Linked DNA regions of Homo sapiens: regions 2, 3 and 4 are each linked to region 1. The links are contacts of gene promoters, found by promoter capture Hi-C in blood cells and fetal thymus (Javierre and others, 2016). All regions are on one chromosome and are shown on one strand. Each heading gives the region's core, a stretch centred on a gene start or on the middle of the fragment in contact. The rest is flanking DNA. Distances are from core to core; before and after follow the strand shown.

What was found. Contacts are between HindIII fragments. The CHiCAGO score rates a contact against its expected background, and 5 or more counts as called.
Region 2: a fragment that was not itself captured here is called in contact with the fragment with the promoter of BCL9 in region 1 in 1 of 17 cell types (fetal thymus); the score reaches 6.0 in fetal thymus.
Region 3: a fragment that was not itself captured here is called in contact with the fragment with the promoter of BCL9 in region 1 in 6 of 17 cell types (M2 macrophages, naive B cells, M1 macrophages and 3 more); the score reaches 7.2 in M2 macrophages.
Region 4: a contact is called between a fragment that was not itself captured here and the fragment with the promoter of BCL9 in region 1, in 2 of 17 cell types (megakaryocytes and fetal thymus). The highest score is 7.2, in megakaryocytes.

What each region holds. Positions count from the first base shown.
Region 1 is chr1:147,539,203-147,544,130 of GRCh38, forward strand. It overlaps BCL9 (BCL9 transcription coactivator), which reads left to right and starts at 2,299. Exons shown (of 10, transcript NM_004326.4): 1 at 2,299-2,472. RefSeq lists enhancers at 1,957-2,251, 1,970-2,724, 2,285-2,344. The HindIII fragment of the contact is 5,169 bases long and covers 2,208-4,928 here.
Region 2 is chr1:147,921,820-147,926,747 of GRCh38, forward strand. It overlaps LOC105371229 (a long non-coding RNA gene), which reads right to left. Exons shown (of 3, transcript XR_922074.4): 2 at 1,603-1,707. Among named protein-coding and RNA genes, the nearest start is that of GPR89B, 4.1 kb to the right of the region's middle. The HindIII fragment of the contact is 4,332 bases long and covers 521-4,852 here.
Region 3 is chr1:147,881,863-147,886,790 of GRCh38, forward strand. No RefSeq gene overlaps it. Among named protein-coding and RNA genes, the nearest start is that of GJA8, 18 kb to the right of the region's middle. The HindIII fragment of the contact is 490 bases long and covers 2,772-3,261 here.
Region 4 is chr1:147,258,049-147,262,976 of GRCh38, forward strand. It overlaps CHD1L (chromodomain helicase DNA binding protein 1 like), which reads left to right. Exons shown (of 23, transcript NM_004284.6): 6 at 1,789-1,870. Among named protein-coding and RNA genes, the nearest start is that of CHD1L, 18 kb to the left of the region's middle. The HindIII fragment of the contact is 1,969 bases long and covers 1,768-3,736 here.

The sequences.
Region 1 (4,928 bases), core at 1,049-3,548:
AGTGAGTCACCACCACTTAGAAGTGGACAGTGAGTCAGTAGCCTATTAAGGGGAGGTCAGAAGTTCCCCTGGCTCAAAATGAAAGGATCCAAACCCAACCCTGGGGTACAGAAAAAACAGTGTACTTATATGGCTGACTGGACTTGAAGTGCCATGGAGTACCTGGACTACTCCAGTGAGAAGGCATAATATGGCGGGTAAACGCTGGGGCTTTAGAATCACACAGGCCTCAGTTGGATTTCAGCTCTACCTCTGCCTTGCTGTGTGACCTCAGACAAGTTGCTTAACCTCTCTGTGCCTCGTTTTTCTATCATCTGTAAATGGAAATGATCATAACAAAAATTACTTCATGATACAAATGAGTGGGAAAATGCTAAGAATCAAGTAAATACTTAAAAAAAGGTTATTATTATTATTATTATATTACCACATCATCATCATTAATGGGAGTCGGGACAGACAGTTCAGGGATCAGGGATAATGGAGGAGCAAATTAAGGGGGAAAATAACAGGAACAAGTCTGTGTCTTTGATGTGGTGAGTTTTAGGTAGTGACACCTCATTTAGCTGGTGTTAAGTATGAAAGAAGTCATAATTTATTCTTTACTGCATACCTATGAAGGAATGAGTGATGTGTGTTCTCATAATTTCCATTTTGTAAAGGAAGATTCTGAGGAATAGAGTCTAAACAATCTTCATGAAAAAGTACAGAACTGATTCAGCAGCAGTTAGGAGCTAAGCTTCCATTCAGATCCTGTTGCATAGGGATAACTCTTCTGGCCTAGGCAGAGGAGACCTTGTTAGGTCTGTGAGTCCACAGTATCTAAAAATATGAATGTCATATAATCATCCTGTCATTCTTCTTCCTGATCTCAATTGGCCCTCCTGATTTCATGCCATCTGCAAATTTGCACATCCTTTGTGCTCCTTTTTGCTCACATTTTATGCCTTCTTTTACCATCTCATTTACTCTGCATGTTTCAATCTTTCTGGGCTTCCATTTTTCTTCTTTTTTTAATGCAGTGTTGTTTCTCTCTCTCTCTCTCTCTCTCTCTCTCTCTCTCCACTCCTTTACAGCCCCCACCTCCTCCCTCCACACCAATCAAATTCCTGCTTGTTTCTTGCCATATTCATTATCCTACCTCATTCCCCTCTTATTCCTAGAAAACAGCACACTCACCCTCCCCTCCTCCAACTCTCAGGCCCACCCTCCATAAATTCCAGCAGCCTGGCAATCAGTAACTTTAGCATCACACTTCACAGCTCTCCTAGTTTACACTACTTGTTACTACTCTCCTTGCTACTGCTCTCTAGGGTTTCTGCTAAAATAAAAAATAAAAAAAAATAAAAAAAGCTTCACTTTAAAAATATCTTGGGTACAAGTTGAACCTACAGTTAAGTTTACTCACACATTTACACATTTCATGATTTTATTTTAACTAGTAGCTCAAGTCCATGCTCAATTATGCAGTGAAAGAAGGCTAGATCCTTAGGAAACAAATTTTTCTCTATTGTAAAGAAGAAAAATCACCTAACCACTCAACAGAAACCCCAGTCCTGGGGCCACTCACCCTCTTATCTCCCTACTCCCCCAATCTCCAGCTAATGGGACTTTGCTTTTTCCTTTGTCGGGTCATTTATTTCACTTTTCCTGGCGCTGAGATGGCCTGAGTCTGTGTATGTGTGCACACGTGTGTGGCCACTGCTTTTCTTCCAAAGGACTCACCTCTCTTCTGCCATTTTACTAGGACACAGGAGGCGGCTCTCTGCTCTCGCTCTCCCTCTCTTTTTCTCCCTGCCCCCAACTCAGCCTGGGCTTTTTCCTGTCTCTTAACTCCACCAGTGCAGCAGCAACTAGCTGAGCTGCTTGAGAGAGAGAGAGAAGAGAGAGAGAGAGAAGAGAGAGAGAGAGAGAGAGGAGAGAGAGAGAGAGAGAGAGAGAGAGAGAGAGAGAGAGAGAGAGAGAGAGAGAGAGAGTGTGTGTGTGTGTGTGTGTGTGTGTGTGTGTGTGTGTGTGTGTGCCTGCGTGCGCAGCTAGGCCAAGCCTGCGAGCCTGCCTGTCACTGGAGAGTTTTAGTTTGCATTCAGAAGAAAGGAGGAGGGGAGACAAGAGGGGAGGAGGAAAAGGTGGAGGGGGGAGGAGTGGGGGGGCGCAGAGAAGGGAGGGAGAATGTCTTGTTTGTGGCTTGTCAGCAATTGCTTGAGACAAGCTTCCATGTGTGAAAGCTACTTGGCATGAATGCCTGGGCCGTACCAAGTGTCACCGCAGCAAGAGGGGGAGTCAGAAGAAAAACAGATCAGACCAGAGCAGACAATAGGCCCCTAAAGTGTTCCCCCTAAGTTGCTTTGATGTTGTCCTGGTGTCTTGATACCAGGAGGCCAGGGATTGCGGGAAAAGGGTCTTTTTTGTCTTCATTCACTTTCCCCCCTCAGTTTCTGAAATGATTCTCCAGAATTTCTCCTCATAAAAAAGGTAAGAGCCCTAACAATTCCTTCTTCGGTGGCAGGCTTGTTCGCCTGTGCCTGGAAGTGGGGGTCTCATTCCTGCGCTGCTCTGGAGGAGCGCTGGGGTCCTGCGATTGGAGCTCCTGCGTTGCCCCTGGAAGTCTTTCAAGGCATCCAGGACTGGGGATGGCCCCTCTTTCGAGGGAACCCCAGTAACACGATCTGTGCCTCTGGGTTGGTGGGGGAGAAGGGGTGGATGGAGAGGGCTGGGAGGAGGGTGTGAGGGTGGGAGGGAAAAGAGAGAGAGAGAGGGAGCGCGAGAGAGGGAAGCCTGGAAAAGAGGGAGAGAAGGGCAGAGCCTTGGTTCAGGGAAACCCCAGCCCAGAGCCCAGGGAGGCCTTGCAGGCTCCGAGCTGTGCATTCTCAGGCTGAGCAAGGGCCGGCCAGGGCTCCGCCGAGTGACTGCAGAGATTGCATCGAGCTTTGTGTGTGCCAGTGTGCCCGTGGGTCTGTGTGTGCGTGTGGACTTCCCACACACTGCCCTGGCGTGCCTCGCTGTGAAGGGGAGGCACCCCGATCCTTACCACCCCAGCCCAGACTCTCCGAGGAGGAGCGGCATGGCAGGCAAGAAGGGAGAGCAAGAGAACTCTGCCACAAGACGATCCAGAAACTTTTCCAGTCTCAGGGATTCCTCTGGTCGTAGAGACTGTTGAGTTGTGGGGTGCCCCGTGCCTCAATTTCCCCATCTGTAAAATCAAGGTTGCTGATCAGGGATGCTGTATGCCTCCCTGGGATTGAGCGAAACAGAACAGATCACTGTGTCTGAAACGCGTGGAGAAATCGTCAGCTAGAGATGCTGTGGAATCACAGAGTAGAAGTGTTATCATTATTCTTGATCATCATCATCAGGGTAATAAAAACATCATTAAAGACACCCTGAGACAAATAGACTGAGGAGCACAGATCAAGTGTCTGAGCATTTCTAAGGAAACAAAAAGCCTTGTTCCACCTGTTGGCTTCTGTCCTTTTTCTCTTGTGTCTTTTCGTTAGATTTATTGGCCGATTTGTACAGAGAATGGGGTGGGAGGGGTTGGGTTTTCCCCTTTCCTCCTCCTTGTACGTATTTTTGTTTTAAAGAAGGTCAATGTAAGATGCTTGAGCGAGAAAATGTGCCTCCTGGTATAGTAGTTTATTCAAGACCTTGTGTTTTCTGGGGCTGGCAGGGCATGCAGACGCATCTGTAAACTCTACCTTGGAGGTTAAAGATTTTTATTGTGGCTTTTAGAGATTAAATGAGATTTATTTACAATTGCTGTTTATCAGAGAGTAAATATCTTACTGTGTGTGTACGAGGCTAAGAATGTGAAGGCTGTTTACTCGCCGGTGGTTTTGTGGATAAAACCTTTTGCTTTTTCAAGTGACATCTTGAGGGATGGAACAGAGGGCTAAAATCAGTGCCTAACATTCATCTTAACAATTTTTTTTGAGGAAAAAAAATGTCTGCTTATTTTCTTGAATTGTGGATTTCCTTTCTTCTGTTCCTACACATTGATTGTTTAAAGGCTCTCAGTTGTAGCTCTCTCTGAATTCTCTGGAGGAGTTCTGCTTTCTTACCTAATTCTAGGTTTTCTGTGACTCTGCTACTTGTCCAAAAAAATCTGTAAAAGTCTAGGAGGCTGTGCCTCCTTCCATTCTAACTGCAAATGTTTATCAGACTGACTCCCTGTGATAGCTGGAGATTGAAGCAAAGGGCCAGCCCTGGCTGAGAATATTTATGTGCTTTTCACAGAGGCCTGGAAACCTGACTTCTGAGTATGGGAAAAGCTGAAGGAAAGCCATTAGTTGGCCTGGATCTGGCAAGAAGGTCCCCCTACATTTAAGGTTTTATTAAAATAAAGCTGTATTTTATGCATATATATATCTGAAAACTTAGTTGTTTTCTACTTTATAGTCAGAGATCTTACCATGGTTGTTCCTGACAAGATTTCAGGGTCCAGATATCTTCCTAAAATGTTAGAATTTAAGAACTGCAAGGAAAAAGAAGTGTTATTCCATCATGTTATAGATGAGGATGTTAAGGTCCAAGAGAGATAAGCACTGATCTGAGGCGGGTGCAACAAAGCTGTGGTAACATCTAGACCACACCCTGGGGTTCAGAGTACCCCAAGGGTCTTCATGCCGGGTACCCTTACCTCACACCCACATTTGATTTTACAAACTCCAGCACTTGGCCAACCAAAGAGAGGCACCTTTTGTAGTTCTGCTTGCTGTGCTGGATTACAGCAGCACACTCTGCCCTGCTCATGTCATCAAATGGTACAAATATGCAAACATGGGTCCACAACATGAATTTGCATAAATTCATTCATGTATTCATTTGTTCATTCAACTTATATTTTGGGGCTCTTTACTCTGCAGCAGGCAAATACTGGGCACTGAGGATATAGGAAGAGAAAGGCAGATATACCCCTGCCCTCAGGGAAC
Region 2 (4,928 bases), core at 1,437-3,936, 380 kb after region 1:
TTCAGTCCTTGACGAATTGATAGAAGACAAAAATAGAGAGGACCTAAATGTAATTTACAAGTCTGATTTAATGGATATGTAATGAAATGTTAAACAAAATACTTCCTATGTCTTGGAGTTTCAGTAAGGCTACATAACCAAGGACAATAAATGCTCAATGTCTATACTCTCTAAAAAGTGGTACAAAGCACAATCTAGAATTGCTTTAAAAAAAAAAAAGTAGCCCCCAAACAGTCTTGCAACTCCTAGCTCACAATCCACCTCTGGGTTATTTAAGAGAACGATAAGGGTTAACTGATAGGAGCAGTCTTTGAAGAGAGTTGTCAGACTAGAAGAAAGAGCTGTGGTGTTTCTCACCCCCTTCCCTCACTCCCCTCCAAGTGAGGGGCTCAAGGAAAACCCCTGAGACTTTTTGGGAAGCACTTGCTGGGAGGGAGGCCTGACCTCTTTCTCACTAGTCATTAGTGGCCTATTGGTCTGCAGAAGTTCACAGGCTCATCTCCGGCTACCACAGTAGCCAAGCTTGCAGGACCTTGATGTGTGTCCTCAGAATTTGCTGGAACATAGACACAGTGACCTTCCCTTGCCCAGGGAAAATTGGAGGCTTGAATAAGTGTTTCTTGTGGGCCAAATTCTTCACCATCATATTATTTTATTATAGTAAACACCACCAAAAAAATAATCCAAAAGGTAGATTGGTTAACTTACTCATGAGATAACCATATGATGGAATGTTACTGAGTCAATAAAAATGCTATAAAGTCTTTGGCAAAAGAAAATATTCATAATATACATTTTTTTTGAGACACCCAGGCTGGAATGCAGTGGTGCAATCACAGATTATTACAGCCTCAACCTCATAGGCTCAAGCAATCCCCACACTTCAGCCTCCAGAGTATCTGGGATTACAGGTGTGCACCACCATGCCTGGCTAATTTTTTTTTTTTTTTAATAGAGACAGGGTCTCCCAATGTTATCCAGGTTGGTCTCAAACTCCTGGACTCAAGTAATCCTCTCACTTCGGCCTCCCAAAGTGCTGGGATTACAAGTTTTAGCCACCATGCCTGTCCTATAATATATTTCTTTTTTTTGTTGTTTTTTGTTTGTTTGTTTGTTTTTTGTTTTTTAGACAAAGTCTTGCTCTGTCACCCAGCCTGGAGTGCAGTGGCACAATCTCGGCTCACTGCAACCTCCGCCTCCCAGGTTCAAGCAATTCTTCTGCCTCAGCCTCCCAAGTAGGTGGGATTACAGGCATGTGCCACCATGCCCAGCTAATTTTTGTATTTTTAGTAGAGATGGGGTTTCACCATGTTGGCCAGGCTGGTCTCAAACTCCTGACCTGAAGTGATCCACCCACCTCGGCCTCCCAAAGTGCTGGGACTACGGGCGTGAGCCACCATGCCCAGCCCCATAATATATTTCTAAAATGAAATATAATGAAAACTATGTAACAACATAGTATGCTCATTGTCTTAGTTCAAGCTACTATAACAAGATACCATACATTGGGTGGCTTCAACAACAAACTTTAAAAAATTTTTTATTCTTAAGTTTTATGGGTGCATAGTAGGTGTATATATTTAACAAACATTTATTTCTTACAGTTCCAGATGCCAGAAGTCCAAGATCAGGGTGCCAGCATGGTCACTTCTTGGTGAGGGCCCTCCTTCTGGTTCACAGACAGCTGCCTTCTCACCATATACTCACCTGTCAGAAAGAGAGTGTGCTGGTCCTTCATCTCCTTGGAAGGGCACAAATCCCATCATGGGGCTTCACTCTCATTACCTCATCTAAACCTAATCAGCTCCCAAAGGCCCCTCCTCCAAATACTATCACATCGGAAACCAGGGCTTCAACATATGCATTTTGGGGGTACACAAACAGGATCCATTTTTTCAATATTGGATCACTAGGAGTCCATAGCACTCCTTGTGATCCAGTTTTGGGAAAATCAAAAGGTATATGTGCATTGGTGTGGGTATGCATCACGTTAACCAAGAATAAGAATGAATATCCCAGACTTTGGAAATATGCCAGTGTTGTACTCCTTTGCAACTGTCTTAATGTCATGGTGGCAAATCTCAATCCAGTGGTAAAGGTGGGCACTTCTTTAAAATAAGCAAATGTCCCTGCTGGTAGTTATCCCAAAAAGAAGTTAGTCCTGGAGCAAGAAGTGGTGGGGCAGTAGGGAGAGCTTTCTGCTCTGCCTGAGCACAGACAGCAGGGGACCAGAAGTTTGGAACAGTTCATACATTAAGAATATGAACATCCTTTACTTTGAACTTCAACTAATATATTCCATTTAAAATTTAATCTCTACACATTCTTCCCCTTTGTTCACAAAATATATGGATCAAATTCATTCTGCATGATAATTATATTAACAGAGAATCCCAAAATTAGTTTTAATAAATGGAAAAAGTTGGTGTTATATATTTCAAATAATGCCGCTGAATCTTTCCAAATTTGGGAGCTCTACAATCATCAATCTTTTCAGTATAATTTGAATAACTGACAACCAAAACTTTTAAACATACATTTATAAATATTAATAAATAAATATACATTGAAACTAATTAACAATGAAGGAAAACTGAACGTAAACTCATAATAATAATAATGGGTAAAAATTATTGCATACTTACTATAAAGTGCTTATTTTCCTGAGGGCTTTATGTATATTAATCTTCATAATAGCCTTATGAGATAAGGTACTATTACTATCTCTATTTTTTAGATGAGGAAACTGAAGTACAGAGAGTTTAGTAACTTGCATAAAACCACACAACTATTTAATCTTCTTTATTCCTCAGGAACACGGCCTCAAGAACAACCAAGCACTTGATACAGAGTTAACTCTAACTCATATGAACCAATCAGTGCACACCAGGTCAGCACCAAGGTCAATATATCCAAAATGAGATTGTATAAGAGGAAAGGACCGGAATGCACCTCCAAGAAGGTCTGGCAAAGTGAGAATCAGCTAGGCAAGAGGTTCAAAGTAGACTCAAGGAAGATGAAGGGGAATTCTTGAGCCAAAGCACAAGTGGTTGGAAAAGATTTTTAGGCTTCCTGAGGCTGTGGAGTGAGCATATCTAGAGAAAGGGGGGTGGGAGTGGAAAAAAGGAAAGAGCAAAGCTAGCACCACTCTGGCCCTTAGTCCCCTTTCTCTAGGCAAATCAGAACTGGCATTTTCCTAGTGTGAAGGCGCTGACTCACTCTAGGAAAGTTTTGAGGTGGGGAGCAGAGTCTCACAACCAGTCCCCAGTCAGTGTGCATAAGAATCTCCTGGGAAGCTGTTAAAAATGCAGATTACTTCTAAAAAAAAAATTGAATGCACAAAAGCAGAGAGTAGAGTGGAGATTACCAGGGGCTGGGGGGGGGGATAGTTGGGTGGGGTAGGGGAGATGTTGGTCAAAGGAAATTTCAGTTAGATAACAAGAGTAAGTTCAAGAGATCTATTGTACAATATGGTGACTATAGTTAATAACAATGTATCCATTTTTGAAAATCTCTAAGAGAGTAGATTTTAAGTATTCTCACCACAAAAAATAAGTATCTGAAGTAATACATATGCTAATTACCTTGATTTAGCCATTCCACAATGTATACATATTTCAAGACATCATTTTGTGCATGATAAATGTATATAATTTTTATATATTATGACTCCCAGATTCCTCCTCAGAGTCACTTTCAGAAATCCCAAGTCCACTGGTCTACATTAGGGCTTATGAATCTACATTTTAAATAAGCCCCCCAAGTCGTTAGAGAACCACACTTTGAGAAAACTGCACCTATACATTTTCTAGGTATCAAGTATAGATACTGTCCATGGGACCATTGGGAAATAAACACTTTTCCTCTGAATACTTGGGGTTTCCTGTCCAGCTTACACTGGTGACTTAGTGGGGCAAACAGGGGAGTTCAGAGACTCAGTGAACCTGGCACAGTAGGCAAAACTACAAGATAGGATGTCTATCCATGAAGGGAGACAGCGGGAGTAGGATGCCACAGAATTGGTGATATCATATGTCTCAAAAGATCCCAGACTTACAACTGCATGTGAATCTACAACTATGTCACAGTAAGTAAAAATTTTCAAGAGAAAATCCCTAACAGAGATCATCCAGCCACTGGCATGAGCAGGTGCTATGTATGTGCATGGAGAAGAGGTACTAGGGTGTCTCCCAGGGATCTAGTGTTAGTGTCAACTCCTGGGCCCAGTCCTTTGCATTAATTTGGAGGAAGGGGATGAAGTAGTTAGCTGTCAGTATGTGGATGGTGCTGGGAAGTGTGAGAGTACCGTAGGTATGAACATTGCAGTTGCTATGACAAAGGACAGTAAAGTGGTGTGAGCAAACACTCATCCAAAGGACACAGACTGATCATCTTGTCAGTCGACTCTTTGTAGCACATCTATGGGACTGGCTGCCAATCTCTGGATGAGTGGCAAACAATGGCTACTAGTTATGAACATGACATATTTTGAAAAGCTCCCTTGGAAAAAGCACAAACTGGGGACTCAGAGCCCAGATGGTGTGACTGTCCATGGAGGCAGAACCAAAAGATCCCACTATTCTAAGAGGATGGCAGCAGCTAGAGTGGATCGGGAGAATATTACCAGCGGTAGAGATGGGAGGACAAGCCATTTTAGTGTCAGAGTCCACCACCAGCAGAAGAGACTTGCTTTGAAAGGAGAGTCAATTGGATACTAAATGCTGTGCGAAGGTTTCTAAAGACATTCCTCAATCAAAATCAGGGGATAAAGCAGTCGCTTGAATCACCTAGGCCTGTCCTTTACCTGGACACAAGTGGTACAGTAGGGAGAATTCTGAATAGTGTCACCCAAAGCTTTGCATAGGCCTTAGGCCAGCAGGTATTGCACACCTTTCTCTGCTATTCCTCGTTACTGATATTCTGATCCC
Region 3 (4,928 bases), core at 1,767-4,266, 340 kb after region 1:
CATGATTTTCCAAATGTATTTATTCTACTAGAGACTTCTTTTTAGATTCCTTAGAATTTTTAACATACACATCATGCCATCTGAAGATAGTTTTATTTCTTCTTTTTCAAACTTCATACTGCATTTCTTTGGCTTGCCATATTGTATTGGTTACAGCCTTCAATATAAGTGGTGAGAGAATTTTTTCTGATCTCAAGGAAAAAGCATTTGATATTTTACTATTAGGTATGATATTAGCTGCAGAATTTTTTCATAGATACCATTTTTCAGATTAAGGAAGTTATATCTGAAAGCATAAGCATTTTAATCATGAATGAGTATTAAATCATTTCAAATGTTTTCTGCATTTATCAAGTTGATCAAATGGCTTTGCATCTTTATGTTGCAGATATGGTAAATTGTACTAACTGATTTTCAGACACTAAACCATCCTTGCATTTTTTGGGGGAGAACCCCATTTGGTCTTATAATATCCTTTTTTATTTTTTAATTATCTCTTTTATATATTGCTCAATTCTGTGTGCCAATATTTTAGTAAGGCTTTTGCATCTATATCCTTGAAAGATCTTTAGTTTTATTTTATTGTGAAGTGTTTTTTCTGGTTTTGTTTCATTCAATTAAAAATATTTTTTAATCTCTCTTGTGATTTCTTCTTTGAAACATGGATTACTTATAAATGTTTAATTTCCAAATATCTGGAGATTTTTCTAGATATTTTATTATTATTAATTTCTAATTTAATTGATTTATAATTTAATTCTATTGTAGCTAGAGAATATATTATATATAATATTAACCTTTTAAAAGTATTAAGAGTTATTTTATGACTCAGCGTATGATTAATTTTGGTGACTGTTTCCTGGGCACTTAAAAAGAATGTTTATTCTGCTGTATAAGGTAGATTGTTCTATGAATGTCAATTAGGTCAAATTGTTGATTGTGCTGCTCAGGGCTTTTTATCCTTACTGATTTTTTATCTACTTGCTCTATAAATTACTTAAAGAAAGCTATGTTGTTAAAATCTCTCACTATAATTAGATATTTGTTTATTTTTCCTCTTAGTTATGTCACGTTTTGCTTCTGTTATTAGATACATTTATATTTAGGATTGTTATGTCATCCTGTTGCACTGATTTACACTTAGGAGTAAACAGGGACTAGAAATAGACTAGCCCTCAAAAAGAATAAATCTCAGCTTCTGATAAACTCAGTCATTGATTGGATTGAGATAATTTGTCAGCACCGATTATCTAAACCTGGATCACAACCACAGCTACCTTCAATATACACCTTCTTTTAGCCTAGAATTGGGCAGAGTTTTGACTATGAAGTTTAGGCTAATCTGGTGTGCAGATATGCCATGCAATTCCTTCAGTTTTCAAAATCTAGACTTGCTAGTATGTCATTAGTATTTTATTAGCTAGCCTGTATGCTAGACACCCAGGATTTAGTGGTGCCAAATGTTGATTCCTTGTATTGGTTTATTTATACATTTTGTTGTCTGACTCTTTAAGAAGTTCAGGTCATTGCTTGAGACAAATTGTATTTATTCATTAATTCAACAAATACTTTTTGAGTATCTAACAGAGTAAAACTCCTGCAATGACAATGCACTAGAATATAAGACCCTGATATTGGCTTCCTTCTTCCATTCAGCCACTATTCTCAAATTAGCAGACAGCTTTCTTATTATTTGAGGAAAAAGAGAAAATGTGGAAAGAAGAAGAGGGGCAGGATGGAAAAAATAGGGGAAATGGTGGTAAATTTGTCTTTGGAAGCAGCGAAGTGGAGGGTAAGTCCCAGCATCCCTAATGTTTTTCTGGACCTATCTACTTGAATTGGGCCAAGTGGGTACCACTAACCAGGAGATGTTTGGAATCACTGCTCTTTCCCTGGAAATCCCAACAACAGGACCCAGAAGCATCCCCATCAATATTTAGGCTAGAGCAGACAACTACTATCAGGAGTTGCCAAAACATAGCCAGGTGGTAATGAATTTAGATGGGAGTTCCCTGCTGGCTAGCTGTGCTGGCCAGCCCCAGTTATTTTATTAACCTAATTAATTTGACCCCTCATTCTTTATTTATTATGACTTTTGGATAATATTTAATCAAAGAACAGCAAAATTTTATTAATATGAATTTTAATTAATATGCCCTCAAGGAACTTGCATTTTATTGGAGAAGCCAGCCAGGTTAACCAATAACTACCATGCAATTTAATAAAGTCCATAATAGAGGTATGGACCAAATGGTACCATCCCAACCAAACAAGAGGATCATTAACTGTTTTTCTTTTTTCATGTTTTTCAAGAGACCATAGTGATCATCTTCATTGTAAACACGTTTGAGTGTTGAACAGGTCAAGAATGATGGGTTTTATATCTTTGTGGCAGCAACAAATGAATGTGTTAAAACAAATAATACAAATGAAACAACCACCATCCCCTCCTGCAGTATGATTTTCTTTCATTGATTCTATTCAGTGTTACTGTTATTGTGGTTATTATTTCAGTCATTCTTGAGTTAAAGCTAGAACCACATAAAGTCGATTCTTAAACTAAACTAATTAACTCTTAAGCAGGTATAAACGTGAACTCCATTTGACTATGCCAATAGAAAAATAGACCAGTTAGTTTAAGGACACTATGAAAATCATTAAACTTAAAACTAACATGGTGTGGGGCAGGGGAGAACAATCCCTCTGAGACCAGTGCTTTTTAAATTTCCAAGAATAGAAGAAGTGATAACAAGAAAAATCATACAGTTGGAAGCTTAGCATTTTACAAGGCAGCTAGAGAGGACCCAGAGGAGAAGCCTATCCAAGATTGATCTCTGTAATGGTTAATTTTATATGTCAACTTGATTGTGCTAAGGGATGCCCATTTAACTGATAAAACATTATTTTCAGGTGTGTCTATTAGGATGTTGTAGCAAAAGATTATAATTTAAATCAATATGCTGAGTAAAGAAGATTCATTTCCCCCAGTATGGGTGAGCATCTTCTAATCTATTAAAGGCCCAAATAGAACAAAAAGCAGGAGAAAGGGTAAATTCTCTCTCTCTTCTTGAGCTGGGATACCCATCTTCTCCTGCTCTCAGAAATTGGAGCTCCTAGTTCGCAGGCCTACAGACTTCAGGATTTACTCCAGTGCCTTCCCCACCAACTCCCCATCCCACCAGCTCTCAGCTTTGAACCAGGAGTTACACCATCGATTCCCCTGGTTCTCAGGCCTTCAGACTTGAACTGAATCGCATCACAAGCTTTCCTGGTTCTCCAGCTTGCAGATGGCATATTGTGGGACTTCTTGGCCTCCATAATCACGTGAGCCAAATCCCATAACAAATCTCTTATATGCCTATATATATATCAGATTGGTTCTGTTTCTCTGGAGAACCCTCACTAATACAATCTCATGTGGACAATACAAGTTAAAGGAAGACGGAAGACCAAAATCCCTGGGCATGCATCTTCTCAATGTCCTTACCTTGCTCTCACTGCCCAGTTCTTTCACTGCCTCTTCTTCCAATCTACTTGAACAGTTAACCAAACAGCAGCTAACTGGTCTGGTCAGCTGGTTGTGATCATTCCGACCCTGGGAATGATTGCAGTAGGGTCTCAAAAATACAATGTACAGGCAAAAGTTTACAGCAGGAAGCATGAAAGGAACTGGATTACGTATAAACCATGAAACATATCTGCCAGGTCCTCTTCCTTAAAAAGGATGGATCTAATTATACAGGGGATCACAAAGGGGGCAGAATTTGTAGGAATGACCCCCCCAGAGTTTCACATTACCAAGACTAAGGGAAAAGTTTTAGGGAGAACTTTGGTGTCTCTAAACAGAAATAACTCCAGCTTGGCAATGAGATATGCGTCTCTTTTCTCTACGATCTTCTGGGTCTTGGTCCCTTTCATGCACTTTCATATTTGCCAGTTATGTGTCTCAGTTTATTTTATCCAAGCCCTCCATCAACTGATTATATTTCATCTCTAATTTTAACAGGCATGTGAAAGTACAGGATCTTCCACCCCCATCTCAGAGCAGACATCTTATTTCCTAGACTTTCATTTCAAGGCCAACCCAATAAAAGACATTGAACTTAAAATGTTATAAAATATGCTTCCACTAATCCCCAATTTAAAGCTCAGTTGTAGACTCTTTCCTCCCCCCAACCCCATTTCTTTAGTAAGAGAAAGTAAGTAATGTTACCAAACTCTTGAAGTCCAGCTGCTGTCTCTAACTCTAACCAAAAGACACGTACCATGTAATGGAAAAAATGCAAGTTATAAACTTCAAATTTGGGCCTGGATATAAATCTTGATTCTACCACTTCTTAGCATTATGACCTTGAGCAAGTGAATAATATATTTAACTGCATTCCCAAATCTGTAAAACAGGAATAAAAGAGTTACTTTATAGGGCTTTAATAATGATGAAGTGAAATGATGTATATAAAGGTGCCAGCCTTATAATGTACATTTAATAAGTTATGACTATTTTAAAAGGGATCTTCAAGTTTTGTAATAATGTTGGTGTTCACATCTGCATATGCCTAACTGTTAGCATAGAACTGGTGAATGAGAAATGCATTGTGTCAATTCCTGAAAGTATGAGTGATGGACAGTAGCAGACCTTTCTGCTCATAATTTTGGTCAAGAAGTTGTGCTTTCTTATTTTTTTGTGAGATTTCCAACCAAAATAGATGATGAACTCATAAATATGAACTGGTCTCTGTGCTCCAGCAACTGATAGAAGCATTTCTCAACCTATTCCCACCCACTCCTGGGCCTTTCCCACTCACCAGGTAGAATTTTGAGAAAGAAATTGGCCTCCTTCAAGAGAGAAAGTTCAGGCAGAAACAGCACCCCAGGCATTACACAGGAGCAATCTTGTGCCCATTCAGAGACTAACCACAATCCAGATG
Region 4 (4,928 bases), core at 1,502-4,001, 280 kb before region 1:
GCTTATTGCTGTATTGTACATTCTGAGAATAGCAGGGAAGTGTAATATCATCTCTGCCCTAAAGAGATTTATTATGGAGAGTTAAGGCTGTGCATGTTACAAATATGAAAAATTTGAAATGTTTTGGACAATAGACTTGTAAAACTCTTTGGATCAAGAGGATTAGAAGTTACCTCATCCAACTTTCCATTCAGTGCTGGATTTCCCCCATCTTTTCCTCTTCAGGGGACATCATTTAGAGTATCCTTTGATAAGTGATTTGACCCACTTCCTTTCATGAGCCAAAATCCACCACTCTGTAGCCTGTTTCACTGAACAAGCATTTTTTGGACACCTAAATGTCTAGTTCTTCACAAGGGAATAGGACCTAATCTGTTTTGAAAGCTAATTCAGACAGAGCCAGGCACCATCCTAGAGAAACTTCCATACCTTATCTCATGACCACTGTGCAACTTCAACTGGACCTTTGTTTCTTGTCATCCTTAAATGCATCCTCTGCTCATGCCACCCAACCTTCTCCTTCGACTTCCTGCACTCTCTTTGGACCCTCAGTCCTCCCTCTACTCGCTTCTCTCAGTAGGTGAATGGTAATGTCATAGGGACCTCTGTTCCTCTGCCTGTCCTCTGGAGTTTCTCTGTAGCCTCAGGAAGAGGGCCTCCTCCTTGTAAGGTGAACCTCTGCTCAAGATCTTTCTCTAATTTTGGAGGAATTTTCCTTTCCATACCTACTATTTTTCCAGTGTTCTGTTTTACCTGTATATACATTTAGTTTTTTAAATATGAAAATAATGTAATGGGATTCCAGAATGTTTATAATCAAAATAAAAAGTTAAACATCTTATAATTTTCACTTTATTATCTTTTGCATGGCTTTCACATTTGTAAAAGAGGATACATGATATTTATATCTTTTTTATTATTCTATAGGCCTTTTAAATTGCAACATAATCATATTTATTATTTAAAATGCCATGTAATATTTTACTACCTATTATTGGACATTTAGGTTATTTTCCATTTTTTGCTGTTTTAAATAATACAACTTGAAACATTCCCACATATATCTTTTTCTGTATTTTGAATTTTTCTTAAATAGCTTCTCAGTAGTATCTGTCAAAGTATTTGCTTTTATGACTGAAACTTCTTGAGAAATTGCTGATGTGACACAGTATGCTACAAAATGTGCTCTGGCAACAGCCACTAATGACTTCCATGTCAACAAATTCAGTGGATATATCTTCCTGGACATCTCTGTGAGATTTGACTCTGCTCACCACTTACCCATTTTAAAGTCACACTTCTTAAGTTCCTACAACACCACTGTCTATCTTGATTTTTTTCTTCTGTTTGAACATCAGCTCTGTCTTTATGACCTTCACCAAGTCACCTAACCTTTCTGAGCTTTAGTGTCTTTATTAGTAAAATGAGCACAATTGTCTGCTTGCTATACTCTTTTAGACTAAATAACACATAAAGCCCTGAGGTTAGTGTCTGGCACAAAGTAGGAGATCATAAATGTTTCCTTTTCCTTTCTGTCTCTGGCTTCTTCCTTTCTGCATAGGTCTTTCCCATTTTGTTAAAAAAAAAAATCCCTTGGTTTTACTACCTTATCCAGATATTGTATTATGCACATGTAGCCTCTCAGGAAGGTAATTTGGTGGCATTTGTAATAGAAGGGGCTTACTGTTAAGTCTTTTTAATAACAGTCACAGTTTTGTAGTAAGACTTTTGATTGTGAAATATGTGTTTAAATTACACAAAACTGAAAGCTTGGGTTTTCTCTCACAGATTCCCTTGGAGTGTTCTTGTTGTGGATGAAGCTCACAGGTTGAAAAACCAAAGCTCCCTGCTGCATAAGACCTTGTCAGAGGTAAACTTACAGTGTAGCCTTAGTTTTTATATAACCCCTTCTTTTTAAATATACATTATATTTTAGAGTAATTTTAGATTCACAACAAAATTGAACAGAAACTACAGATGTTTCCCATGCATATGTCCCCACACATGTACAGCTGTCCCCTGTCCCCACACTTGTACAGCTTCACCCATTATCAACATACCCCACCAGAGTGGCACAGTTGTTGCAACTGATGAACCTACATTGATACATCGCTATCACTCAAAGTCCATAGTTTACATTCGGGTTCACTCTTGGTGGTGTGCATTCTGTAGGTTTGGACAAATGTACAATACCATGATATCTACTGTTATAGTATCATACAGAGTAGTTTCACTGCCCTAAAAATCCTATGTGCTCCACATATTCATCTTTTCTTCGTAACTCCCTTTAAAAAATACTAGTTTAGGCCTATATAGAGTCAATTAAATTGAAACCTTTTTTCGAGTTCGATTTCTGCAGGGCTAAATGAACATTTTATAGAAGACAGAAGAAGTACTAAATATGGCCTAACTTCTTCTTTCTTTTATATTGGAGATAGGTTTACTAATATCTGGTGAATAAGAACCCTACCCCAATAGAATGCATTTTATTTCAGATGTTTCAACTCTCTTTTGATTATCTTCAAAGGAACAATTTCTCTTAAAAAATCTTATTATAATTCTTCTTTGTGCAATAGTAGATATATCAGACATGTTGTACCCTTCCCCCCAATTTACCTGTTGAAAAAATTTGATAGTTCACCTGGGTTCATGAAGAGACCAATTACATGCTATTGAATATTACCTCCAGTTTGTCTTGTCTTTGTCCTACTTTTGAGCATAATACACTTGCTTTCATTCCTTTCTCTGGATCTCTTGCATCATTCTGGCAAAGTAGATGAGAAATACCATTGTACCCTAGATGGGCCCTTTTTTCCGAGGAGTCAGTGCGATGTGAAATACCCTTTTTATTGACCTGGTAAAGATTTGTTCATTGATGAGACCACATATGTTAATTTCTGTGATGATAATTGAAGTTTGGTCCTTGTCCTATAATAAACCAATTAATAAATTTAGAGGTCACTTGGAGGAAAGTCTTAGATATGAATTCTATTTTTACTGGTCTGAAAGTTGTAGTTTTTAGAGTCTTAATGTAGATACGATCACTGTGTATTATTAGCCCAGTCTCAAAGGTCGCTGTCCCCTGGTGGGGCCCCCTCTATCCCTGGTGTCCTTTGCTTTCTTTGTAGGGACTTTTAACAGTATCTCCTTCTGAGAGCTTGTCTTGGTCTGTTTTTCACAGACTGGGTAATTCATATGAGCAGAAATTTATTTATCACCGTTCTAGAGGCTGGGAAGTCCAAGATCAAGGTGCCAGCATTTGGCAAGAGCCTTCTTAACTGCATCCTCACATGACAGAAGGTGGACGGGCAAGAGGGAGCAGAAGAGCAAGCTATCCAAATGCTGCATGACACTTTTTTTTTTTTATATATAAAGGCCTTAATCTTATTCACGAGGGAAAAGTTCTTATGAACTAACCACCTCTTAAAGGCGCTACCTCTTAATAATATTACATTGACAACACCTGAATTTTGAAGGAAACACATTCAATCCATAGCAGTTGTCATATCCTGGCATCTAACCTTATGAAAGATGGCTTCATAAACTACTGTGCCAGTTTACTAATTTAAAACGGGAGGAGAGAAGCAGGCATAGTAAAAGAACCTGGATTTGGAGTGGGAAAGCTAAGTTCTGTTGCTGGCCCCAGAGCCTTTTCTTGTTATTCATAAGGAAACTAAGGCTCAGGGATTAAGTGAAGAAATGGTTCTGGGTCATCTAAGCATTCCTTTTTAGATGAAGCTTGGGTTGCAGATAACTAGTTGGAAAGAAAATACATGTATTTATTGGGCTGAGATGGGGAGGGGGATACTGCCGTTTTTTATTTCCCCCTAATATTGTTTTCAGTTTATAAAAGTTGGACGCAACCAGCCGGGCGCAGTGGCTCACGCCTGTAATCCCAGCACTTTGGGAGGCTGAGATGGGTGGATCACGAGGTCAGGAGATCGAGACCATCCTGGCTAATACGGTGAAACCCCGTCTCTACTAAAAAATTCAAAAAATTAGCTGGGCATGGTGGTGGGCGCCTGTAGTCCCAGCTACTTGGGAGGCTGAGGCAGGAGAATGGCGTAAACCTGAGAGATGGAGCTGGCAGTGAGCCGAGATTGCGCCACTGCACTCCAGCCTGGGCGACAGAGCGAGACTCTGTCTCAAAAAAAAAAAAAAAAATAGTTGGAAGCAACCTAAATGTAAAATATAGGGAATTGGTTGTACAATTTATGCGACATTCATGCAGTGCATTTGCAAAAGGTAAGGCTACCAAGAACAATTATGTAGAAGAATATTTAATAACATGGAAAATGTTTGCAAAGTATTTTATACACACACAAAAAAGCTTACAAAATACTATTTACAAACAGAGATGGTCTCTGAATCTTTACCCAGTTATAAATTTTGATCCCAAAATGGACCTAACTGAATCAAAATGTTAATTTGTGTCATAGGGTAAGTTACCTGTAGCGACTAGCAGCCTTGGTTTCCTTTGTGACCTCACAGCCTTCATTCACCTCAGCTCTTTACTTGGTGAACACATATTGTAAGAATGTGAACTGATGATTGGAAACATTACTTTTGACAAGTTCCCATACTTGAAATACTACAAAAACATCACCTAACAAGCAGAACAACCATGAATGGGTAGACATTGATTAGACATTTAAAAAGAAACAAATAAAAAAGGGAGATGGCAAAAAAAAAAATTGTTTACATCTGTTTTCATTGATTGTGTTATTCATTTATCATTTTTTGTATTATAAAAGCAGTGTCTTCCTATGGCCCCCCCTCCAAATCAAAATATAGAAAGACAAGAAGAAAAGGAAAACATCCCAGTAATCCTACTCCTACATTAACACTTTAATGGTTTAATGGTGTATGTGCTGCCATAATCTTTGCTGTGTGTATACATTCAAAAAGTAATGTATATATGCATATAT